4 separate regions of the Homo sapiens genome follow, and regions 1, 2 and 3 are each linked to region 4. The links are contacts of gene promoters, found by promoter capture Hi-C in blood cells and fetal thymus (Javierre and others, 2016). All regions are on one chromosome and are shown on one strand. Each heading gives the region's core, a stretch centred on a gene start or on the middle of the fragment in contact. The rest is flanking DNA. Distances are from core to core; before and after follow the strand shown. Region 1 holds the start of ZNF444 (zinc finger protein 444). Region 2 overlaps CEACAM20 (CEA cell adhesion molecule 20). Region 3 holds the start of ZNF787 (zinc finger protein 787). Region 4 holds the start of CTU1 (cytosolic thiouridylase subunit 1).

What was found. Contacts are between HindIII fragments. The CHiCAGO score rates a contact against its expected background, and 5 or more counts as called.
Region 1: the fragment with the promoter of ZNF444 here is called in contact with the fragment with the promoter of CTU1 in region 4 in 3 of 17 cell types (naive CD8 T cells, non-activated CD4 T cells and activated CD4 T cells); the score reaches 7.0 in naive CD8 T cells.
Region 2: a contact is called between a fragment that was not itself captured here and the fragment with the promoter of CTU1 in region 4, in 3 of 17 cell types (total B cells, naive B cells and activated CD4 T cells). The highest score is 8.3, in total B cells.
Region 3: the fragment with the promoter of ZNF787 here is called in contact with the fragment with the promoter of CTU1 in region 4 in 4 of 17 cell types (activated CD4 T cells, non-activated CD4 T cells, total CD4 T cells and 1 more); the score reaches 11.1 in activated CD4 T cells.

What each region holds. Positions count from the first base shown.
Region 1 is chr19:56,139,914-56,144,472 of GRCh38, forward strand. ZNF444 (zinc finger protein 444) reads left to right here and starts at 1,374. Exons shown (of 5, transcript NM_018337.4): 1 at 1,374-1,444. RefSeq lists enhancers at 837-1,166, 1,197-1,336. The HindIII fragment of the contact is 17,292 bases long and covers 1-4,559 here.
Region 2 is chr19:44,502,773-44,507,718 of GRCh38, forward strand. CEACAM20 (CEA cell adhesion molecule 20) reads right to left here. Exons shown (of 12, transcript NM_001102597.3): 12 at 3,387-3,442. The coding sequence ends at 3,389. Among named protein-coding and RNA genes, the nearest start is that of ZNF180, 4.7 kb to the left of the region's middle. The HindIII fragment of the contact is 5,114 bases long and covers 1-4,436 here.
Region 3 is chr19:56,119,320-56,123,892 of GRCh38, forward strand. ZNF787 (zinc finger protein 787) reads right to left here and starts at 1,976. Exons shown (of 3, transcript NM_001002836.4): 1 at 1,853-1,976. LOC124904772 (a long non-coding RNA gene) reads left to right here and starts at 2,291. Exons shown (of 2, transcript XR_007067348.1): 1 at 2,291-2,613; 2 at 4,201-4,573. RefSeq lists enhancers at 1,021-1,315, 1,743-2,458 and silencers at 1,063-1,112, 1,193-1,512, 1,803-1,882, 1,893-2,012, 2,103-2,472. The HindIII fragment of the contact is 11,888 bases long and covers 1-4,573 here.
Region 4 is chr19:51,106,989-51,111,467 of GRCh38, forward strand. It overlaps CTU1 (cytosolic thiouridylase subunit 1), which reads right to left and starts at 1,421. Exons shown (of 3, transcript NM_145232.4): 1 at 1,359-1,421. RefSeq lists an enhancer at 1,387-1,716. The HindIII fragment of the contact is 4,633 bases long and covers 1-2,983 here.

The sequences.
Region 1 (4,559 bases), core at 124-2,623, 5.0 Mb after region 4:
GTCAAGTAGGCCATCGGATATGAGTGGGAAGAAGATCAGCGTGCTCTAGGAGCAGAAAGGAGGCATGACTGGAACTCATTAAACACGAGGAGAAGACAGTGGTAGACAGGTGGGCCAGGGCAGATTAGGCCACCGTGGGCAAACTGGTCACAAAGTTCTGAGTCAGCCACTCATCGCTTGTGAAACCTGGGGAAAGTTGTTCATTTATGAATATAAGACGAACAACTTCCATGTAATGAATGCTTGTTATGGGTAAGCCACTGTCTTCGTTTTTATGGCGCGGAGTCTTCAGATCAGCCGGGGAGGTGGAGGATGGGAGGGGGATTCTCTTATCCTTGTTGTACGGAGGAGGAAATACGCTGCGGGCTGGGGTAGGGCTTGTATGAGCCATAATCAGGTCTGGAACTGTCTAGATAAAAACTTCAGCTGATCTCTTAGGATGTCTGTCTGCTCTAAAATCCAAATATGCTTCTTCACAGTTCTGAGATGCAGAAACTGAGGCCTCAGGACGGGGCAGTAGTCTGTCCAATAGGGGCACAGCGAGGACGCGTGGCAGGTAGCGCTGTCCCCCAATTCACCCCAGGGGAAACTGAGGCTAAAGAGAGGGCGGTGTCCTGTCCAGGTTCACACACAGGAAGAGCCAAACCGAGGCCCCCGCGCTGGCCCCCTCCTGAGCCACTGCCCACCCCGGAACAGGAGGGCAGCCTGCTCACGTCCTGATTCCTGGCACCGACATCGGCCCTTAAGTTCTGCCCGGGTGGAGAGGGAGGACAAAAAAAAATGCGATCCGTAGTCAAGGAGACGTAGCCTGCACTCCTGATTGGCGCAGAACTCTAGCCTGGTCTCCTCCTCCTCCTCCTCTTCGCTTGCCAGCTTCTAGAGCTCCGGAGGCCCCACCTCCCAAATGCCCGGCGGTGCCCGGCCTCCCCTGATCTCCACAACAACGCCGCCATGGCTCCTCCTCCTCCTCCCTCTTTTTTTCCCGGCACTTCTGCGCATGTCCAGGGCCCGCGCGCAGACCACTGGGAAGCCTCCTCGTGCATTCTGGGAAATGTAGTCCAAAGCCTGTCGCGCTCAGACAGCCCGCGACATTTGCGCCGTCAAGGCCAAATAGGCTGCAGACGACGCTTTCGCGTATCTTGGGAAATGTAGTTCCAGTGTTGGCGAAGACGCCACGCGGTGACAAACAGGAGTAAGGCGGTCCCCAGGCGAGGGCCAATTGGCAGCCGCCTTTGCCGCGATGCTTCCTGGGAGTTGTAGTTCGGGGTGAGGCCGGGGCTTCATGGGGAGTTGTTGGGCTGAACGAGCGGCTCGGAGTATGGGATTGGGGGAGGGGGACGGGGGAGTTTGGCGCAAAGCCTGCTGGGGCATGGAGTCCCGGCGAGCTTTGTGCGCATGTGCGGGGAGGTGAGGGGGCTTGGGGGGCCTCGCCTGAGAGAGTGAGGTGAGCGAGGGGGGAAGGAGGGAGGGATTGGGTGGGGGCGGTTGGACGAGGGAGGGACCAGAGGTTGGATGGGAAGAGGGGCGCCGGGGGCCTCAGGAGGGAAAGATGGGAGACTTGCGGGGAGGGGAGGAGAAGGGGGCTGAGTGATGGGGAAGGGGCTGGGAGAGGGAACTAGAGGGGGAGGGACTTGGAGAGGGGGAGGGGTGGATAGTGGGAGGGGGTCGTGGATCCTCGAGGTCCTGAACGCGGGAGAGAAATGCTGAGGGAGAGGACGGGGGAGGGGCGCCTGGGGGAGGGGGAGGGGCGGGACGGGGGAGGGACAGGTGGGGGAGGGGAAGGGGACCCTAGCAGAGGGTGGGCTGTGAGATGAAAGCTGAGTGGGAAGCTGGACCCTACAAAGGAGTCTGGGGGCGCCGGGACCGGACCCCTTCGGAAAGGTTTGCGGGAAGGGGCTTCCGGGGACGATGGTTATTGTTGTAACGTAGATACGGCGCAGGTGGCTCGTTTTGCGCGCTGCTTCTACAAGTGCAACTTTTACAGAGTTGTGAGATTCCTGAAGATAAGAATCGTTGCTCTGTTTTGCTGCTTTCTCAGTGCGGAGCATCTGCCTTTTTAGCTTGTTGCAAGGCATTATTACCTTCGGTAATATGTGTAAAGTGCTTAGAAACTCTGTTTATTGTCAAATGAAGTTGACCCCCGCCACCTCTACCCCAGTCAGGATGGAGTCACCCTCCTCTATATCCGATTTTAACGCCTATTCCAATGTATACTTAGTATTTTAATCTGCGTGCGTGTTCATAGCAGTGTCCCCTGGGCACCTCGCAGGGAAACTTCGACAAAGTAACCCTAAGTCTGACTGGACACTTACTAGCCAGGTGTGGTTCTCAGCATTTTTGTTCTCCTTCTATCACTTTACAGTCAACGAAATGGAGATACAGGGTATTACAAAAGGTGCCTTGTACCTCGTCCAAGGACACAGAGCTGGTAGGAGGCAGAGCTGGAATTTGCCCCAGAGCCTTTGTGCCGTAGGTAAATATTTGTCCAGTGGGCCAGCGGCTCTCAACCAGGAGTGGTTTTGTCCCCCAGGGGACATGTGGCAATGTCTGGAGACTTTTTTTTTGGTTTTTCCAACTTGGGAAGTGCTACTGGCATCTCATGAAAAGAGGCAGAGATGCTGGTAGACATCGTATGTTGCACAGGATAGCCCGCCACGACACAAGTGCCATTAATGTCGAGGTTGGGAACCTAGAGTAGACAAACCGGTCTTTGTCGAGCACTTAGCCTTTGGAGGCTGCTTCTAACTCCTGCTCCCAGCAGCCTCTTGAGAGGAAGGAGCTCTTGTTAGTCCTGTGTCTCAGGTGGAGAAATGAAGCACAGAGGGGGTAAGTCACACGTCCACAGTCACACTGCTGATGAGTGGCAGAGCTGGAAGTTGAAGCCAGGCAGCCAGACTCCACAGCCTCTTAGCCATGATATTAACCCAGCATATGTGGGTGCTGGTGCCGGGGTACTAGGTGGAACTGGTGTGGACTCTGGAGTCACATCTGGGTCCCATTTGTGGCTCCTTCACTCTCTGAGCATCTCCCTATGGTAAGAGGGGACCCATCTCCCCAGCTCACAGGTCTGTTGGGAAGGTTGGGTGGGGCAGTATAAGACACTAGCCACTCAGTGGCTGTCTTCAAGGCATCCAGGGTGCCTGGCTCTGGACTGGACTGTGCTTTGCGGACACAGACAGCTAGACAGCAGGGTTACAGCTGTTGAATGCACATAGCACAGGGCGCTCATTGGATGGTAGGGTGGATTGACATGGTGGAAGGCCCTTACTTAACAGCATGTGCTTTCTTGGGAGCAGGCCTTGTGCTGGATGGCCCCACCGACCCAGTGAAGAGCTGGACTTGGTCACTGCCCCAGAGAGCTCACTTTCTGGACAGCCCAGGGTGTAGTGACCTGTGATCACCTCTGAGATTGCAAACAGGGTCAGCTTGATGGCCTGTGGCATTGCTCTCTGGCGGAAATTCCTCCTTAGTCCCAGAGGGATCTTTTTTATAGCAGAGCAGGCATCTGTGTGGCTTTTGAGACTTGGATCTGGCCTGGGTCTTCCGATAAGTCTTTCTGCCTGCTCCCAGGTTCATCAGCCCTTAAACTGATGGATGGGTGGGGTGGGAGGTGATGCTGTGGCCTGGCTGTGGATGTGCAAGTCCAGGCTCTGCCACGTGTTAGCTGAGTGACTTTAGGTAAGACATCTCCCCTTGCTCCTGCTGCAACTTGGGGGTAGTAACACCAACCTCATGGGATTGATCAGCCTGTAAAGTTTATTTGAGTGCTAGCCAGAATGCTGGGGTTGGAATATGGAGTCTCTCGCCCACATGAATTGTAGTGAAGAAAGTCAGCACACAGATATCGTAACACTAGATCTTGTTAAATGCTGAAAGAAAACTAATAAGGGTGACGTCTTAGCAACTGGGGGAAGGGCACGTGGGTGCAGCATCGGAGGGGGTGATCTGGGGAGGCTCTCCAAGGGGGTAATAATTGCATGGAGGCCTCAGTCATGAGAAGGAGTCAGGTAAGCAAAGATTGGGGGGAAAGAGTGATCCAGCGGGAGGCAGCACAGGTGCAGAGGCCCTGTGGTGGGCACTGGCCTTCGGTCCAAGAAGATAGAAAGTGAGCCAGACCGGGCACAGTGGCTCACTCCTGTAATCCCAGCACTTTGAGAGGCTGAGGTGGGAGGATCACTTGAGTCCAGCAGTTTGAGACCAGCCTGGGCAATATAGTGAGACCCTGTCTCTACAAAAAATATAAAAATTAGCTGGGTGTGTTGGTGCCTGCCTGTGGTCCCAGCTGCTCAGGAGGCTGAGCCAGGAGGATGGTTTGAGCCCAGGAGGTCGGGGCTGCAATGAGCCGAGAGGTCATGCCACCGCTCCAGCCTGGGCGACAGAGAGAGACCCTGTCTTAAAAAAAAGAAAAAAGAAAAAAAGGGATCCATTGTGGCTGGAGTATAGAGAATCTGGGAGCAGGCAGAGATGAGAAAGTAGGGCTGGGCTGCATGGTCTCATGGCCATAGTAAGCAATTTGGGTTTTGAGCATCACAGGAAGCAGTTGGAGGGCACTGAGCAAG
Region 2 (4,946 bases), core at 630-3,129, 6.6 Mb before region 4:
TACTGAGAGAGAAAAATGGACAAATAGAAATGCTGTGTTGCTAGCTGTGTGTTGTAAAGATGTAAAATCTTGCAGATTGATCTGCAAATACAAATATGACAAAATCAGAATGGGATGCTTTGAGTGTTAGGTCGTCTTCCTTTTTTCACTTCATTTATTTTTCTGCTAATTGTTTAAGATATTCAGAAAATAGGCCAGGCGCAGTGGCTCACACCTGTAATCCTAGTACTTTGGGAGGCTAAGGCAGGCCAATCATGAGGTCAAGAGTTCAAGACCAGTCTGGCCAACATGGCAAAACTCTGTGTCTACTTAAAAAATACAAAAATTAGACAGGCATGGTGATGCACGCCTGTAATCCCAGCTACTCAGGAGTCTGAGGCAGAAGAATCGCTTGAACCTGGGAGGCAGAGGCTGCAATGAGCCAAGATCACGTTGCTACACTCCATCCTGGGCAACAGAGCAAGACTCCATCTCAAAAAAAAAAAACAATTTTCAGAAAATAAAGCGTTAGTACTATGTAATGTAAAACTGACTTTGTTTATCTGTCTTTTGTTTAGTCTTTTTTATTTTCTTTCACAATGAACAAGGTGGTAATGTTTACTTCCAGGAACCTATAAATCCTGACTTAACCTGAATATTACAGGGACTTTAGAAGAGTTACCACTGCTGGGCGCAGTGGCTCACGCCTGTAATCCCCACACTTTGGGAAGCCGGAGCAGGAGGATCACTTGAGCCCAGGAGTTTGAGACCAGCCTGGGCAACATGGTGAAACCCCGTCTCTACAAAAAATACAAAAATTAGCTGGGCCTGGTGGCACAAGCTGTAGTCCCAGCTACTCAGGAGGCTGAGGCAGGAAGGATTGCCTGAGCCCAGGAAGCAGAGGTTGCAGTGAACCAAGATTATGCTACTACACTCCAGCCTCAGCGACAGAGCCAGACCCTGTCTCAAAATAAATAAATGAATAAATAAAAATTTTAAAGAGTTACCACTCAGGAACATTCTAGAAAGATGCCTATCTAATCTAGAGATTTATCTGTCAACTGTCGGGAAGAGCTGAGACCAAAGTTTATATTAAGATTCTGTTTATTGGCCATGAATTGGATAAGGGCTCAAGATACAGTGAAGAGCAAGAAGATTATGAATCCATTTACTATAAATACTAGAAAACAAAGTAAGAGTAACGAGAGGGTAAAAGGGCATGATCTGTCTCTAGGATGTCAGGGGGAGGGGGACATTTCTTGGCAGGGAAGAGGAAAGTTCTCAGGGTTCAAATAGGGTGGTGTTTCTGGTACTACTGAGTGCAACCCTTAAGATCCTAATTCCGGTCTCTTGTATCACATCTAATGATTAATTTTTAAAATCTGAATTAATGTTATCATCATTATGATAGCCATTCAGCTCCAAGGATAGCAACAACGCATTCTGAAAACTCTTCATTTCCAGGAGTTTTCAGTGTTGGTTTCCCCCTGTGTTAACAGTCCTTTTTTGTCTCCTTTGCTTGATCTCTCCTGTAAACATCAGAGGAACCCAGGAATCAGCTGTCAGCCTGTCCCTTGCCTTGTCTTCATCCACTCTGCTTGGGGTTGACATAACAGGCCTATTGCTCAAACTCTGTAAGTTCCCCAGAAGGTCCTGTTTTCCTGACTAGCCTTTGGGCAGCTCTGGGAACTGAGCTCTCATAATGTTCTATCTGGTAAGAGTGCTTTTGTTTGCCTGAGGCCTTGAGCCATGCTGTACCACTTTGTCCAGATGGTTTATACTAACAGTGTAATTTATGGAGGAACATCTGCTTTCCTTCTAGGAGTCTGGAGCTTCAGTGACTGACCCTTTATAAAAACCATGGACACCCAGGTTTAGGTGAGCTTCCCTCGATGGCAATGCTTCACACACGTTGTCACACATCATTGCTGGGGGATTTCCCATGTGCTGTGGTTTGGATATTTGTCTCCTCCAAAACTCATGTTGAAACTTAATCCCCAGTGTGGCAATATTGAGAGGTGGGGGTTTTTAAGAGGTGATTGGCTCATGAGGGTTTTGCCTTCATGAATGGATTAATCCATTCATGGACTAATGGATTAACGGGTTATCATGGGAGTGGAACTGGTAGCTTCATAAGAAAAGAAAGAGAAACATGAGCTAACATGTTACCACACTCAGTCCCCTTGGCATGTGATTCCCTGCACCACTTCAGGACTCCACAGAGAGTCCCCACCAGCAAGAAGTGCTCTCACCAGATGCAACCCCTAGACCTTAGACTTCTAAGCCTCCATAACTGTAAGAAATAAATTTCCTTTTTAAAACAAATTACCCAGATTTAGATATTCTGTTATAGGCCAAAGAAAGCAGACTAATACACCATGTGACTCCACTGAAAGAGAACACTTGGAAGCTGGTGCAGGGTATCCTCCAGACTTCACCCCATGCACCTTTTCCCTTTGCTAATTTTATTCTCCATCCTTTTGCTGTAATAAACTATAACCATGAGTATAACAATTGGGTCCTATGAATTCCTCTAGAAAATCTTTGAGCATGAGGTGGTCTTGGGGACCCCCCTGACAGAGGAGCTCATCCAGCCCCATAACTTTAAGTCCCACTGACAACTCTCAAATGTGTATCTCCAGCCATGATCTGTCTAGATTTTTATGAACAATTGCCTACTTGATTCTGCAACTGATTCTTGACATGTCTAAATTCTTGACATGAAGCAAATTCTTTATTTCTCTCCTTATCCCAAAGTTTCTCAGAAAGTGACCTGCCAATCATCCAGTTGCCCTGGCAAGAAACCATGGAGATATCCTTGTCTCCTAACTCTCTTTACCTTCAGCAAATCTCATTCTGACTCTCTCCGCCCCTGCAGTTCTCAGGATTCTAAGCATTTCATGCCTACCTCTCCTCAGGAGCCTCAATCCCTCACTTCACTACGTGTTTTCTCCTTTTATTAAGAGCTCTTAATTTCTTAAGAGCTCCTTGTTCCTTATCTTCTATCATGATTTGAAAAGCCACTTCTTCTCTGACACCTGTCTTTGTCCCCTACTCCTCTCTGGCTGACTCAGACTCACTCTTCTCTCTGGAGTCCACCAACAGTGTTTGCTCATCCTCAGCCTGCAACTATGATATCCTAAGCTGTTCAGTCTCAAACCTTGGTCCTCTAACTCTAGATCCACGGGCTGTCATTTTTACCCTTACTATTGCTTTGAAAAAAAATATGAGTCAAAATCTAAGATTCTATGGAAGCCAGGGCCTGACCAACCCATTGCAGTAGAACATCACAAGGTCTACAGAGATGACAGAGAATGACTGGCTTATAATATGCACTTAATAAATGTCATTAAATATATGATCAAGCATGGTTTCTCTAGGACTCCTGGAGAAAAGATCTCTGCTTCCATTAGACGGAGGGGTTGATTTGGATGTAAGTGTTGGGCTCTGGATTCACAAGCTCCTGTTAAACAAAGAGAAAATGTGAGCTCCATTTGCTAGGTGGACCCTCCCAGTCTACTCACTGTAGTCTGGGGCCCAAACAGCCTGGAGCTTTCCTTTCTTTGGAAATTCCAAAAATCTTCCTCCATTCTCATCACACTTTAGTAACCCTGGCACATCTCTGTTCCTGGAATGGCCCATGTACTTCCCCACTGTGGTAAACAGACTCTAAAGTGGTCCCCATAATCCCTGCCTCCTGGTATTCATTCCTTTATGTAATCTCCTCCCCTTGAGGGCAAGACCTGTGACTTGCATCTAACCAATAGAATATGGCAAAGGTGGCAGGATATACATGATTGCATGTATGTGATTCTGTTACATAAGATTATGACTTCTGTCTTGGCTTGAAGAAGCAAGATGCAATGTTGTGAGCTGCCTGTGGAGAGGGCCACATGGCAAAGAACTGAGGATGACCTCCAGCTGACAGTAAGAAACTGAGGCCCTCATTATGACAGCCTGCAAGGAACTGAATGCTGCTAATGACCACATGAGCTTGGAAGTGGATCCATCCCCAGCTGAGCCTCAGATGAGACCTGGGCTTTGACTGGCACCTTGATTATACAGCCTTGCAGAAGAGCTAACTAAGCAATGCCTGAACTCCTGACCCACAGAAACTGTGAGATAATGAATTCATGTTGTTTTAAGCTGCAAAGTCTGTGGTAATTCATTATACAGCAACTGATAACTCTACACCCTCTTCAGGGCCTTTTTTACTGATGCCTCTCAAGTTGGAATGTTTCCTTTCATACTGTTTGCATGGTTTGCTCCTTCTAATCCCTCCAGAATGTAGCAGACACTGAGTTCACTGAGTTGACTGACCTAACCTTCTTCCCCACACCACCTCCCTTGCTTGCTTCTATTGAAGAGGCTGGGAATGTTAATGTACCACTTTCTCAGCCTCTGTTGCTACAAGGAGCACCATATGACCTTATTCTGGCTAATGAGATATAAGAGGAAGCTTACTAGGTGGTATTTCTGGGAAGACCTTTTGCCCGACTAATAATAGGAAACAAACATGGCTCCCCTACGCAGACACTGGTGAAGAGAGGGACTTAGGTGGCTAAGTTTTTACCAGTTCAAAGCTGATTAGAGAGCTGACAAAACTAAACATGATCCATACCATGGCCTGAATCAATCTGATTCTTCTATGGAGAATTTGAACCTAGAAATGCTTAAAGGGCAGCAGAAGATGTTGTTATATATACTCTGAAGTTATAGAGAAGCAATGACCAGGACATTTACATAGAAATTCAATCTGGATTGAGAAGAATGAGATGAATTCATAGATTAGTGAAAATGAGAAACTGTATAATAAGAGAGAAACAGCTTCTTGATAGCATTCAAGTCGCCAAGAGGCCCAGGAGTAATTTCTGAAATTGAGTTATCTGATATTTCTCAGTGTTCTCTCAATTAATCCCCATTCGAACTACATTCAAAGGGTTTAACTTTCTTAACATTAAAAATTC
Region 3 (4,573 bases), core at 726-3,225, 5.0 Mb after region 4:
CTCGTTTTTAGACAACTGAAGGGAAATTGAACCTGGGAAAAGGGAAGTGACATGTCCAAGGTCACAGAAGTGGAAGAGACAGTGCCAAGGCCAAGGCCCAGGAAAGGGCCTGGCTCCAGAGCCCTTTCCATTTACTTTACACCCATCTGTTGAGGTCTGCTCTGGCTCTAAAATGAAAGCATTAAGAGCCTTCCCGCTGAGGTCAATACTATTATTACCACTCCCACTCTGTCCTGGTGGAAAGTAAGGCACTGAAGTTACTCGTCTAAGGCCACGAAGGTGAGTGGTGGGGCTGGGACTTGAACCCAGGCCTGCCCAGTCCCAGAGCTCTTGGGGAATACAACCCAGTGCCTGCACACACTCTGGCAGTGCACCAGGGAGGGGCCAGGCCGGGTGCCCGGATGGATGGATAAGACATGAGATAAGCAAGCAGGAATCTGATCTGGATGTTCTCTGAGGCCGTGCGTGGCCGGAGGACCACAGGGACTGCGCAGAGGCAGGCAGGTGAATGTCAGCAGCGTTTAGCCAAAGAGGCTTACGGTCTTCAGAGGAGCTAAGCCAGGATCAACGCAACTGTGCTTCCCGGCGCTGGGGTCAATCGGATCCCCAGATGGGTTCTAAGCACTGCGCAACATGGGACCTGGGAGCAGGACACCGCAAAGAGCAGACCAAGCCATTCCTTCCCTAAAGCCCTGACCATCCCCCGGACTGGGCTGGGTCAAAATGCCTTCCCTGGCTCCCACAGCCCCCAGACCTCTCCATCAGGGGTCTGGTCACCTTGGATGGCGACTCTGTCGCCCGGGTCTCAGTCTCTGCCTTCCACCCAGACTCCAAGCCCTTGTTCATCTCCCTGCTCCCTGTCTCTAGTGCCCGGCACAGGGCCTGGCACTGGAAAAACTTCTGCCTCCACTCACTCCTGCCTTCTGTGTCTGTGGGTCACTTTTCTGTGCGACTCTGCAGGTCCCAGAGCACTCATCCACATGAATTGGGGTCAGCTCCCTGGACTGGGGGTCGGGGTGGGGTGTCAGGAGGGCGGGGCTCCACTCTGATCCACTCGGCACAGGGGAGGGAGGCCTCAGGAGTCGCCACCCGATCCAGTCCCCGCCTTCGCCCTGCCCCGTGGGCCACGCGGTGGCTGACCTTGGCCCAGTCACTTCCCCCGCTGGGGACGCGCTTCCTCCCCGCCTGCCGAGCAAGGACGAATGAATGGGCCTCCTGCCGGCCAGAATCCCCGTAATTACCCGCCTGATCAAAGGCCACGCGCAGCCCGCCCGGGGCAGCAACGGGACCCGGGCTGACTCGAAAAGGGGAAGGAAGGGCTGGGGGGGCCGAGGGCTGAGACCGTGCCCTCGGGGCCGCGGTATCCGGCCAGGCCAGCCCAACCGCGCGGCCCCTTCCCCCACCTGGGCCTCAACTTCCCCCCGAAGTCGCCACCACTTCCGGCCACGACCGGCGGAGTTGGAACTTCGGGGGGACGGACAGCGGCCCCACCCCCGACGGCCCGCAGCAGAGGGACCCCCACCGAGGCCCCCGCTCCTGCCCCCGCCACGCGCACGCGCGCGCCCTGGACCCGGACCCGCGCACGCGCACCCCCCCTCCAGCCCCGCTCGCCGCCCGCGGGCCGCCCGGGCGCGCGTCCCCTCCCACAGCTCTTCGGCGCGCACGCGCACTCCCCCCGCCCGCGTCACCCCGGCCGCGCGCCCACTCACGCCCCCCCAGCAGCGCGCACGCGCGCCCGCCGCCCAGTCGCGCTCGCCCTCCAGTCTCCCCACCCACCCCCAGCCCAAGCCCAGCTTCCCGAAGCGCGCGCCCACCTGGCCCCCAGCGCACGGCCCCCGCCCCCACCCCTCACCTCCTTGGTCCCGGGGCCGCCGCGCCGCACTCCTCCTCCTCTCTCCTGCCTCGCGGATGGTGGCAGCGGCGGCAGCGGCGACTCAGACCCTGGGGTCAGGGGGACGGGCGCCCAGGCCGGAAGTGACCTTCCCGGCCGCTTCCGCCCGCGCCGCTCCCCCCCTTCTCCCTACTCCCTGCCCCCCGGGCCGCCACCCTGTCCTCGCCGCTCTAGGAAGGCGAGCCCGCTATCCCGGCCACCGCCCCCAGCTCTGTGGTGCCCGGCGGGCGCCTGAGGGAGCCACTTCCGGAAGTGTCTAGGACGCAGGTCCTCCGTCCATGCTCTATGGCGCCCCGCGCCGAGGGGCTTCGGCCCCGCCCCCTTCCCGGACAGGAGGTGCGGGCTGGGCCCGTTAGGCGGAGACTTCCGGGTGTCTAGGGCGGTGCCCCCCCGACAACCCGGGCTCCTCGCGCCTGCGCGGCCGGGTCCCCGGGCCCGCCGTGAGGAGAGTGAAGTGGTGGAGAGGGACGCTCGTGCCACCCCGGGTCCTCCTACCGTCTCTATCATGGTAACCCCTTCTCTGCCGCTGCACCTCCCAGTGGCCCGAGTCCAGGTGCCTTAGTTACTGGACAGAGACCCCGGGTTCCTTAGTTACTGGACAGAGAGTGCTGCGCTTCAGGTGCCATGGCCTCAGTTTCCTCCTTTCTGAAGTGATGAAAATACATTGTGCGCCTCCAAGTGCTTCACACGCACTAGGTCCTAGTCCTAACTAGGGCCTCATGGTAGGTCCTATCCCTATGTTGCAGGTGAGGAGTCAAATCACCTACCAAAAGTCACACACCCGGAATGCCAGAGCCTCGGCCCGAACCCATGGAGTTTGGCTCTAAATTCGTGTATTTAACCCTTGACTGTACACACTGCCTCGTGTCATAGCCCTGAGAATCCACTACTTCCCCCGCGTTAGGTAGGCACCTAGTAAGGACGCACTGGGTGTTAGCTGTTACTGTTGGTATTCTTGCAAAAAACACATATTTTAAAATAATTGTCCAAACCATAGTGTCCTTGTAGGCTGGTCCTTCTGGTCCTTCCTCTGTTCTGTACTTGGCTGACTCTCACCTAAGTGGCAGATGACTTATCGCTTATAATTGTTATCATCCTCACTGGTAGTCAGAAAAGATAAGAAGCTATAATTCACTGGTGGAATAACACCTTTCTCAGCCTCAATTTCTCATCTGTGGAATGGGAAAAAATAAGATAACCTGCAAGGTAATATGTGTAAGAGCTGCTTAGTTCAATACCTGGCCCATAGTAAGTTCACAAAAATGATGGTGGTTATTATTACCTATTAGCAGTGTTACATATAAGTCTATTGTTGTGGCCACTGTATACCCTCAAAGCTCAGTGAGCATCAATCATAAGATGTATATTATTGATTTAATAACATCTTTCCATGGGGTGGGGTGAACAGTGCTGTGTTAACTGTGTGTGTCAATAGGAGGATATCTGTGTCCCTCCTTCAGAAATATCACAAAGGTAAATTTTTAAATATATCTTAGAACAGAAGGAAGTGTGGCCGGGTGCAGTGGCTGACACCTGTAAATCTCAACACTTTGGGAGGCAGAGGCAGACGTCAGGAGGTCAGGAATTCGAGACTACCCTGGCCAACATAGTGAAACCCCATATCTATTAAAAATACAAAAATTAGCTGGGCGTGGTGGCGGACACCTGTAATCCCAGCTACTCGGGAGGCTGAGGCAGGAGAATGGCTTGAACCTGGGAGGCAGAGGTTGCAGTGAGCTGAGATCGCACCACTGCACTCTTGCCTGGGCGATGGAATGGGACTCCGTCTCAAAAAAAAAAAAAAAAAAAAGAGAGTGAAGTGCTATCATAACAGCAATAGAAACAAATTATTAGGGTACAAACTCTACACGAGGAAACCTGTTTATAAGAAAAGTCATGTGCTTGTGCTCCTCTGAATCAGATCATTCAGTGGGTGTCCTGCAGTGACCTGGTTGTTGGGAGGGACAGCCTCCTCCCTCTCCAGCCCATTCCCCTTCTTCGCTGGTCAAATTGACAACGGCAAGATCGAGAACAGCTCATTGGCACACCAGATGGAAGCCAACACTGAGGATGGAGGAGAAACAAGACACAGGGAGCCAGCTAGACACTGGATGGCTTCGTGAAAGAGGCTCCGTGCCAGCTGAGATTTTATGTGAGAGAAATCACTTTCTAACTCACTGAAACCATTGGTAATTCTGAGTCTCTCCCTTAAGGCAACCCAACCAATACCAGGATGTTTCCCAAACATGGGATGGGTTGCAGCCGACATGGCTTAATTGACAATTAACATCTGTTCTTCCCTTCCGCAGTACAAAATCACTCTTGGGATGCTGCTTCCCATCGATGGATTCTGTTTTCCACTCCTCTTGGCATCTAAGTGTGGCCTTGTGATTGGTTCTCACCAATGGGATGGGATGGAAGCGATACAGGCCTCTTCCGAGCCAATGCTCTTAAGAAACATGTATGTTGGCCAGGCACGGTGGCTCACGCCTATAATCACAGCACTTTGGGAGGCCGAGACGGGAGGATCAGCTGAGTCCAGGAGTTCGAGACCAGCCTGGCCAACATGGCGAAACTCCATCTCTACTAAAAGTACAAAAATTAGCCAGGCGTGGTGGGCGCTTATAATCCCAGCTACTCCGGAGGCTGAGGCAGGAGAATTGCTTGAACCTAGGAGGCAAA
Region 4 (4,479 bases), core at 171-2,670:
AGAGCAGCCACCACCTTTCATCCAGCCCATCTGCAGGACAGGACGTAACGTCACCCTGGACTCATCTCTCCTCACCCCCTAAATCTACAGTCACCCAGTCCTGGGGGGTCCACGTCCTGAGGAAGGGAGACGCTCGCAGGGGACAAGGCTGCACAAGTTAGCAGAGCCTCATAGGCCATGATGTGGAATTTTAGGTTTATTCAGGAGGAGATGGGAGCCTTGGGAGGTTTTTGAACAGTAAAGTGGTATGATCTGGCATGTTTTAAAAGGATTCCTAGACTGGTCAACATAGCGAGACCCCATCTCTAAAAAAATAAATAAATAAATTAGCTGCACCTGGTGGCACAGGCCTGTAGTACCAGCTACTCAGGAAGCCAAGGCAGGAGGATCACTTGAGCCCAGGAGGTCAAGGCTGCAGTGAGCCATGATCGCACCAGTGCACTCCAGCGTGGGTGATAGAGTGAGACCTTGTCTCAAATAAAAAAAGTGGGATTCGTTTGGCTGCTGTGTGGGGAGGACTGTTGGTTGTCAGGGACAAGGACAGAAGGCTGGAGGTCAGCACACTAGACAGGAGTGCTGGCAGTAGAGGTGGGAAGAAGTGAAATTTTGGATCTATTTTGAAGGTGGAGCCCACAGGACTTGTATAAGACTGATTGGAGTGGGGACTGGGGCAACGACGAGAGAAAGTGATGAAGGGTAACTTTGAGGTTCTGGCCTGAGCATTGGAGGGACGGTGGGGCCATTTTGTGAGGTGAGAAGACCAGGAATTCCATTTGGCCACGTCAGGTTTGACATGCATGTTAAGCGTCTTCCCTCAAAGACTTTATGGACCCTCGTCACTGAGTCGAGCGCCTCCACCAGGGCCCTCAGAGCTGCCCTGATCCTGACTAGCTGTCACTGGTGACAGGTCTGTCTCTCTGCTTCAAGGCAGGGACAGGGTTGGTCTGGTGCCCTCGCTCCCGCCGCCCTGCGCAGAGTCGGTGCTCAGTAAGTATCTGTAGGATGAGGGAATAATAAGTGCTCCCAGAAGAGAGGCCGCGGACCCCAGGGATGCCTCTGGATTGCAGCCTTGTCAAAAGGACAGATAATGTGTGGCATGGGGGCGGGGACAGGCAGATAGTAACATAGGGGCGGGGGCAAGCAGATGGTCTTATCCTGTCTTGGGGAAGGGAGTGGCCCGGTAAGAGACAGGCCGGACCGCAGCGTTCAAAGTGGGAATCCTGGCTACAAGGCCTCAGGGACACGGGCGCTGGGAAATCACAGAGGCCTTACGCTCGAAGAGACCCTCAACCCTCCCACGGCACCGCAACAAAGAGCCGGAGTCCACATGCCGACCCACCGCAGGAGGAAATACTCACCCGGGCAGAACTCAGTGCTGGGATGCCCACACTGCCCACCACGCGGAAGCCTGGCCCGGAAGTGACTCCGAGACTACCACTCCCATAAGGTCTTGGGGCTTTCTTGCCTAGAACTCCCAGAAGCCCATGCGACACTTCCGCTGGATGCGCCTACGGCTCCGGGGTCCCGCTTGGCCTACAACTCCCAGAAACACTTGCATTGCTCTTTCTGCCGCTCCCAAAATACACTGCTCCCCCTCCCCCCGCGTTTACTTTCTGCGCCTGCGCGCGGCCGCAGGGAGCGGCGGAGCTGCGTGTACTGTTGTCATGGCAGCGCGCTGTCACCCGGCAGGTTGCTGGATGGGCGAAGTAGTTGTATTCTGATTAACTGATTTTGTGGGATTATTATAGGATTTTAAGGGGATTACAGGGCCTATGATTTCTGCCCTTTGAGGCGGGGTTGCGGGTGGGAATTGAAGGTGGAACTGCAGGGGTTGGTCGCTAGTGTAAAAGGCGCAGATAGCGCATGCGTAGAGCAGACTTCGAGGATTGGAGTGGAACTCCGCGCGCACGCGGGGGCTGTCGTGATGCGCGTGCTGGAGACCCAGACTCTAAACAGAAGGATCCAAAGACCCTTCTCACCTAACCCAGGAGCCCAGAGGCTCAGAGACTCAGACCCTTGAGACTAAGGGGGTTAAAAACGCAGACCCCTGGCACCAAAGCACCTGAGAGAACCAGTAGACCTGGAGACAACCGTCTGCACCCTAGACACAGGGATCTGGAGGCCTCCACCCTCCCCACAAGGCCCAAGGGTCTTGAAGACCCCGGTGACTCAAATACCGGGGCACAAGGAGTTTAAGGACTCAGATATCTGAGACCCTTGAGATCCAGGTCCCCAAACCTAGGTCCTCGAAAAAACTGAGGCTCAAAATTCCTCTAGACGGCGCGGTGGCTTACACCTGTAATCCCAGCACTTTGGGAGGCCGAGGCGGGTGGATCACGAGGTCAAAAGATGGAGACCATCCTGGCCAACATGGTGAAACCTCATCTCTACTAAAAATACAAAAATTAGCTGGGCGTAGTGGTGCGCGCCTGTAGTCCCAGCTACTCGGGAGGCTGAGGCAGGAGAATGGCTTGAACCCAGAAGGCAGAGGTTGCAGTGAGCCGAGATCGCGCCACTGCACTCCAGCCTGGCCACAGAGTGAGACTCTGTCTCAAAAAAAAAAAAAAAATCCTCTAGATTAAGGGACCACCAGAGCCTTAGACTGAGATGTGGAGATGTGCAGAGAGCCCCAGGATGTGTAGGTCTACGGCCGGTGATGACGTGAGAAGGAACCCCATGCACCCTGTAGCCCATTTTTTTCCCCCATAACAGGAAACCATGATGCCTTCCTTTCATATTAAATGAGCTCCGTGAGGTCACTCTTAAGCCTTATCATGGGCCAGTTCTGTTCATCTGTGTGCGTTGGTTCATTTGTTGAATTTATTTCCTGAGGTCTCCTTGTGCCAGGCTGCCCCTGGGCTAGGTTTAGGTGACACAAATGAATCAGACTTGGTTACTGTCCTCTGAGCATCCCCCACCCCTTACACCACCACCCTGTCCTCCTGGTGGGGGAGACAGGGACTTAGTCAATATGGAGTGATAAAGCTTGACATGGAAGTGTTAAGAGCCTTGAAAGCTCAATTTCAATCACTGCCAGCCAGGGTGTCAGAAAAAAAAAAAATTCAACAAAGGCTGCTATGTGCCATGCATCATCTCAGTTTGTTCATCTGTGAAAGGGGGGCAATAATAGCCTGCCTCATAGGATTTATGCGAAGTCAAATTGAATTAACAACACCTCTAAAGAATTTAGAACAGCTTCTGGCACATAGTATGTGCTCAACAAGTGGTTATTATTCTCATCTCAATTCTCATAACATTAAGATTATATGTTACATATGAGTTGGGTACAACTGTAATTCTTCTTCTTCTTTTTTTTTTTTTTTTTTTGAGATGGAGTCTCACTATGTCACCCAGGCTGGAGTGCAGTGGCGCGATCTCGGCTCACTGCAACCTCCACCTTCTGGATTCAAGTGATTCTCCTGCTTCAGCCTGCTGGGTAGCTGGAATTACAGGTGCGCTACCACACCTGGCTAATGTTAGTATTTTCAGTAGAGACGGTGTTTCACCATAGTGGCCAGGCTGGTCTCAAACTCCTGACCTCAAGTGATCCCAAAGTGCTGGGATTACAGGTGTGAGTCAGCATGCCCAGCCTTGTAATTCTACTTAGGTGAGGATCTTGAAGCTCAGTGATGTCACTTCCCTGGACTGCCTGACTCTACAGCAGGGGTTGCAAACCTTTCCTGTAAAGGGCCAGGTAGCCAATATTTTAGGCTTTGTGGGCCACAGGGTCTTTGTGGCAACTCTGCTGTTGTATGTTGAAAGCAGCCATTGATATAAGATAAGCAAGTGAGGGTGGCTGTATACCAATAAAACTTTATTGATGGACACTGACATTTGAATTTCATGTAATTTGCATGTGTCAGGAAATATTCTTCTTTTGAAGAATTTTGAAGATTTTACACCATTTAAAGATGTAAAATCATTTGTAGCTTGTGGGCCATGTAAAAACAGGCAGCAGGCCCGATTTGGCTGGTGGTCTCTGGTTTGTAGCTCCTTGCTCAAAGCCTGTCTCCTTAGTCTCCAAGCTGTGCTTGCTCCTGGAAGAGGTGTGAAGTGTGGCAAAGGAGGTTGAGAATTTGAGGGTCGAAATGGCCTTTTAATACAGAAGAAATCGCCTGAGCAAAGAAAGATCTTGTGGCAAGAAAGCACAGGGTGCCTTTTGTTTGAATGCAATTTATGTTATCTAATCAGGTTATGCACTTAAATGCTATAAAATGGAAACAGTGCATAGACTCTACAGTGAAGTCTCCCTGTCGTCTCCCCCCACCCACCCACTGTCTAGTTCTCCTCCTCAGAGGCAGCCTCTGTCCTGCAACAATGTGGGAGTGCATGCTGAATCGGGGTGTATAGAGTTTCCCCATTCTCCTCTGTGGGACCAGGATAAGAGTGGGATATTTGGGGCTCCAGAGATAGATGGGAAAAGAGGTGAGGTCAGCCATGAGAAGCCCTCTCACTCCCAGCCCTCTGCTGTCTGGTTTC